2 separate regions of the Homo sapiens genome follow, and region 2 is linked to region 1. Evidence: promoter capture Hi-C in human tissues and cell types (Jung and others, 2019). All regions are on one chromosome and are shown on one strand. Each heading gives the region's core, a stretch centred on a gene start or on the middle of the fragment in contact. The rest is flanking DNA. Distances are from core to core; before and after follow the strand shown.

What was found. The method cuts DNA at HindIII sites, captures the fragments that hold promoters and counts their contacts. A contact is called where the count stands out against the background at its distance.
Region 2: a fragment that was not itself captured here is called in contact with the fragment with the promoter of CBR3 in region 1 in 1 of the 25 tissues and cell types used here (spleen).

What each region holds. Positions count from the first base shown.
Region 1 is chr21:36,133,596-36,136,328 of GRCh38, forward strand. It overlaps CBR3 (carbonyl reductase 3), which reads left to right and starts at 1,484. Exons shown (of 3, transcript NM_001236.4): 1 at 1,484-1,886. The coding sequence starts at 1,598. The region is part of intron 2 of CBR3-AS1 (CBR3 antisense RNA 1); the gene reads right to left. RefSeq lists enhancers at 839-1,646, 1,647-2,453, 2,289-2,458 and silencers at 1,469-1,538, 1,969-2,138. The HindIII fragment of the contact is 7,591 bases long and covers 1-2,733 here.
Region 2 is chr21:36,183,212-36,185,944 of GRCh38, forward strand. All of the region lies in intron 2 of DOP1B (DOP1 leucine zipper like protein B), which reads left to right. It overlaps LOC124905016 (a long non-coding RNA gene), which reads left to right and starts at 753. Exons shown (of 2, transcript XR_007067855.1): 1 at 753-795; 2 at 1,351-1,946. The HindIII fragment of the contact is 5,235 bases long and covers 1-2,733 here.

The DNA.
Region 1 (2,733 bases), core at 234-2,733:
CTCAAAAAAAAAAAAAAAAAAAAAATTATCCAGGCATGACTGTGGCACACTTGTAGTCCCAGCTACTAGGGAGGCTAAAGGGGAGGATCACCTGAGCTCAGGAGACTGACGCTACAGTGAGCCACGACTGCAGCACTGCACTCCAGCCTGGGCGACAGAGAAGACCCTATTAAAAAAAAAAAAAAAAAAAAAAAAAACAGAAATAGAAAGCCTAAATAGCCCCATATCCTTAAAACAAGGTTCCAAATGATCTTTTTTTTTTTTTTTGAAAAGTCTCACTCTGTTGCACAGGTTGGAGTGCAGTGGTGCAATCTCGGTTTACTGCAACCTCCGCCTCCCGGGTTCAAGCAGTTCTCCTGCCTCAGCCTCCTAAGTAGCTGGGATTACAGGCACGTGCCACCACACCCAGGTAATTTTTGTATTTTTAGTAGAGATGGGGGTTTCACCATGTTGGTCAGGCTGGTCTTGAACTCCTGACCGCGTAATCCACCCGCCTCAGCCTCCCAAAGTGCTGGGATTACAGGTGTGAGCCACCGCGCCCGGACCAAATGATCTTTAGGAGAAAAAAGAAGGAAATACTGGGGGAGGCACAGTAGGAGATCACAGCAGGGGCCCACCTCCGGAACCTCAAGTAAGGACTTGAGAGAGAAGGTAGAGTCAGAGTAACAGAGACACAGGCGGGTTAGCCAGCTCTGCATGGAAAAGGCTGAGTCGTGATGATGTCATGGTTCTCCCCAAATCTCAAAGTCACTGATCAAACAACTCAGTTTACACTGAAGACGATGGATGAGACTCTAATTTTGTGCCCACAGCTTGACACACCTTTGGGAATTTGGTTTAACTTTCTTTGCCGGTACACAGATCTGTGAGAACATATGATCAATCCAGATCTTTATAGATCTATATCCTCCCTGGACAAACCTAAATGCAGACACTTTTAGCACCCGTAGGAGTTAGGTAGGATTAAATAAAAACATTCCCTCCCACTTGGGGGCACATTCACTGGGAATCCCAGAGCGATGTCGCCTGCCCACACCTGCTAAGTGCGCTCACAGGGCATCTAGTTCCCTCTCTTGAGTTCCTTTTAAGCAAGCAAGGCAACCTATGTCCAGAGAAGCAGTTACTGTGTCTAAGTAAGTCACTGCATCTTAGGAAAAAGCAAACATTCGCATTTTGCAGTGCATGATGGGCGCACACCCAAGAAAATTACTCAGCACTTGTTTTTCTCACTTTGGGGTTTTCCCAAAATAATTTCTTCAGTCCAGTTGCCAAGAATCTGGAGCCCCCGACTGACCCATCAAGGTCCGATTTGGCTTCGGACACCTCGCAGATCACCCCGCGGCTCAGAGCCCGGATCCTGAAGGGCGCAGCGTGGGCAGGGGGCGGGCCCGGGAGTTGGAACAGAGGGCACAGACGGCCCCTCCTCGGAGGGGAGGGACCGGAGCCGGGGCCTTTTTCTTTAAGACTCGCAGCACTGGATCCCAGAACTTAGTCTGCGCGGCGGCATTGACACTAGCTGGGCTCCTCGGGGCGCGCCCCAGGTGGTCCGAAGCCCGGTCCGCCCTCCACGCAGGTGCCCCGCGCTCCCCGCTCAGCCATGTCGTCCTGCAGCCGCGTGGCGCTGGTGACCGGGGCCAACAGGGGCATCGGCTTGGCCATCGCGCGCGAACTGTGCCGACAGTTCTCTGGGGATGTGGTGCTCACCGCGCGGGACGTGGCGCGGGGCCAGGCGGCCGTGCAGCAGCTGCAGGCGGAGGGCCTGAGCCCGCGCTTCCACCAACTGGACATCGACGACTTGCAGAGCATCCGCGCCCTGCGCGACTTCCTGCGCAAGGAGTACGGGGGGCTCAACGTACTGGTCAACAACGCGGCCGTCGCCTTCAAGAGTAGGTGCAGGGCTTGGGTTGGGGCCCCCTGGAGCGCTCCGAGGGTGCGGAGGTGGCCAGCCGCAGGCTCCCCACCCGTCCACTTGAGTGACCGAGGAGGGTGGCGCCGACCCCTAGGGATGCGCTCAGCCCACGCCTCCCGCGAGGCGGTTTTCGCTTTCCGTGATTCGCTGAGCCCCAGGCGGGCCCGGGCGACAAACAGCGCGCCCCGCCCGCCGGCCTGTGAGGGCCTGTGCGCGGCCCGGGGCCCTCCCCGAACTGTCAGCCGCTGTTGTGTGCAGGAAAACTGGCCTCCTGGGAGGGGGCAACGCCCTGCTAGAGTTCATCAGCTTTCCTTCCAACGCGAGAAACATTTTCTCTGCAAAGAAACGGTCTCCGCTCGCTTTGGGCTTTCGCTTTCCTTGAAAGGGCGCATTCATAGATGCCCGGAGGCATTTGCTCGGGAAAGGAAATGAATCGCTAAAACAGGATTAGCGCGCGCTTGCCCTTGGTGGACTTGACAATTTGTGTAATGCAGAGCTTTGATAGGCTCTGGCAAAAAGGAAGCGAGCCTTCTCGTTCCCCCACCCCCGCCCGGGGAGCTTATGTTTGTTATAAAATACGTGCGTGTGGTCTTAAAAGCATCTTCCTTAAGGAGAGGGGCGGGGATCAAGAGATTGCTTATTCTAACTACTACTGAAGAAAATTACAGGAGGGCGCAGTGGCTCACGCCTGTAATGCCAGCACTTTGGGAGGCCGAGGCAGGAGAAACGCTTGAACCTGGGAGGCAGTGAGCCGAGATCGCGCCACTGCACTCCAGACTGGGAGACAGAGCGAGACTCCGTATGAAAAAAAAAAAAAAGTTACT
Region 2 (2,733 bases), core at 68-2,567, 49 kb after region 1:
CTCCCTGACTTCTGTCCAGTAGATGCCAGTATCACCCCCTCCTCCACCCAAAGTTGTAACAGCCAGAAATGTTTCCACACATTGCCAAATGTCCCCTGGGGGCAAAATTTCCCCAGTTGAGAACCACTGCTGTAGACCTTTGGTTTTGTGAGGCAATACATTGCTTCATTTAAACCTGTATGGCTTGATGGTCTGTTCTTTACAGCCACACATGTCCTAGCTGAGCTCACAACCCTGGACCATCCTCAACCCGAGAGCCAGAGCCTGTTTCTTCTGCAGGCTGACGTGGACGTACTTGTCTGTTGACAGTAAAGGTATTTTGTGCATCCTTAAAAGATGCAGTGTCTTGCAGCTGTTGGAGTGGTTTCTGGCTGGGAGCAGGACGCCTACAGAGCAGTTGCAGAGGACCTTCTGTCTCCCCATGGCGGAGGCACCATTCCAACTACGGAACCTTTGTTGTGTTTTGGAGGGGGTCGTGTGCTTCCAGCACCTGCCGCCTCTGCCAGCCACAGCACTCTGCCTCTTTGTTCTGAGTGCCCGGGACAGAGTTGTATAGCTGCTGCCTTTTGGAGAGAGGAGTCAGCTTTGGGCTTGAATGTATCTGGAGATAGCCCAGCTTTCATGCCATCTTCACATTTCCTGTGTACATGGTTTCTTTTTTTTTTTTTTTTAGATGGCGTCTCACTCTGTCGCCCAGGCTGGAGTGCAGTGGTGCAGTCTCAACTCACTGCAACCTCTGCCTCCCAGGTTCAAGCTATTCTCCTGCCTCAGCTTCCCGAGTAGCTGGGACTACAGGTGCGTGCCACCACGCCTGGTTAATTTTTGTTTTTTGCTTTTTCTATTTTATCTTTTTTTGAGACAGAGTCATACTCTGTCGTCCAGGCTGGAGTGCAGTGGCGTGATCTTGGCTCACTGCAACCTCCGGCTCCCAGGTTCAAGTGATTCTCCTGCCTCAGCCTCCCAAGTAGCTGGGATTACAGATGTGCACCACCACACCTGGCTAATTTTTGTATTTTTATTAGAGATGGGATTTCACCATGTTGGTCAGGCTGGTCTCAAACTCCCGACCTCAGGTGATCCACCTGCCTTGGTCTCCCAGAGTGCTGCGATTACAGGTGTGAGCCACCACGCCCGGCCTAATTTTTGTATTTTTAGTAGAGGCGGGTTTCGCTATGTTGCCCAGGCTGGTCTTGAACTCCTGACCTCAAGTGATCCACCCACCTCGGCCTCCCAGAGTGCTGGGATCATAGGCATGAGCCACCGTGCCCAGCCCCTGTATACACTGTTGCGGCCCCTTCCCACCCAGCTGCCGAGAGATGGTTCTTTCACAGGTCTCCTGCTTCCGTGCAGGTAGCTTATTCCAGGGACAGGGAAGCAGGAGGAAAAAGCACTAGGAGGAAGACCGCAGACTGGATTCAGAACAGGCTATCGTGGAGAGCTGTGTGCTTCGCTGCCGGCCTGAGGCTCTGCGTTCCCCTCCTTGGTGCTCAGGCTGCCCGGCATACGCAGCAAGTGCTGACCCAGCAGGCAGCCCACGTGCGCTTCAGGTGTGGGAGGCTCTGCGGGCTGCGGGGAACAGGATCGCTGTGGGAGGTTGAGCCTGGAGCTCTGAACAGCCACTCTGCGCCCAATCTGCTGTAGCGCTGAGGGTCAGGAAGGCCTCTGGGAGTTCTCTAGAAGAAGGCGCTGGGGAGGAGGAGTTAACATCTCATTTCATTAGAGCATGCCAGTTCTGTTCTGGGTGTGACTTTTGAAGAATATTGAGTTCTACCAGTAGAACTTTGGGGACTGAAACCTGTTGAGGATTTGTAGTAAGACTGTGTCCCGAAGGCGTTCTTCCTTTTCTTCTGTCTCTGACTTTAACAAGCAGGTTTCCCTATAAGCTTTGGTGTTTGTTAAACAGATCATTTGTATGTGCAATAAAATATGTTTAAAAATTAGAAAAATAACATCTCCCGATACTATGTTATTTTATATTTTTAATGGTATGATTACTTTTATTTGATTTTCTGGTTTGTGATGATAAATGCATAAGAATGGCAGTGTTCTCTGCATCATGTACATTTCAAGGTGTAGACTGTGTTCTGAAGGGAGAGTCGGCCCCACATCCTTACCTTCTTTTCCTGTGGTTTATTGCAGAACTCAGCTGCCTTCACCTCCTCCTGCCATTTTTCATCACTTCTGAGACTGTTAGCTCTTAGACCCCCCAAATAGAACAGTTTCCTTTGTGAGCCCCTATTATATGCTTGCCACCATTGTTTTTCAAACCTAGGATCCTCCAAACTCAGTGCCACTCAGCCTCTTCTACTGATGAAGAAACTGGAGTTCAAAGGCTTGCTTGCAGCTTCCCAGGTGTATGACGAGTATTTCAGGTCGGCCAGCGCCTTGTGAAGCCCACACTCCAGGGTTGAGGGCAACATGTAACAATGTCAGGGAAGGCTGAGGAAGTGCTGTGCCATCGCAAAAGAATAAAATATAAGTCTAGAAATGCGGAAGGTACTGTACAGCATCACAGCTACCTAAACTTCCTCTATGGGAAGACAGGGAAAGTAGGCGTTAGTGGCAAGACAGAGTGGCTTTGAGTCTAAGTGTCATAATAAACTCTGACGGGGAAAAATAAGGGGCAGCATTTGCACATGTGTGCTGCAGATTACCCGCTGTGAGGCAGCGGTGAGTTTGTTGCCTTGTGTTTTAAAAAGTAATTTTCTGGGCCGGGCGTGGTGGCTCACACCT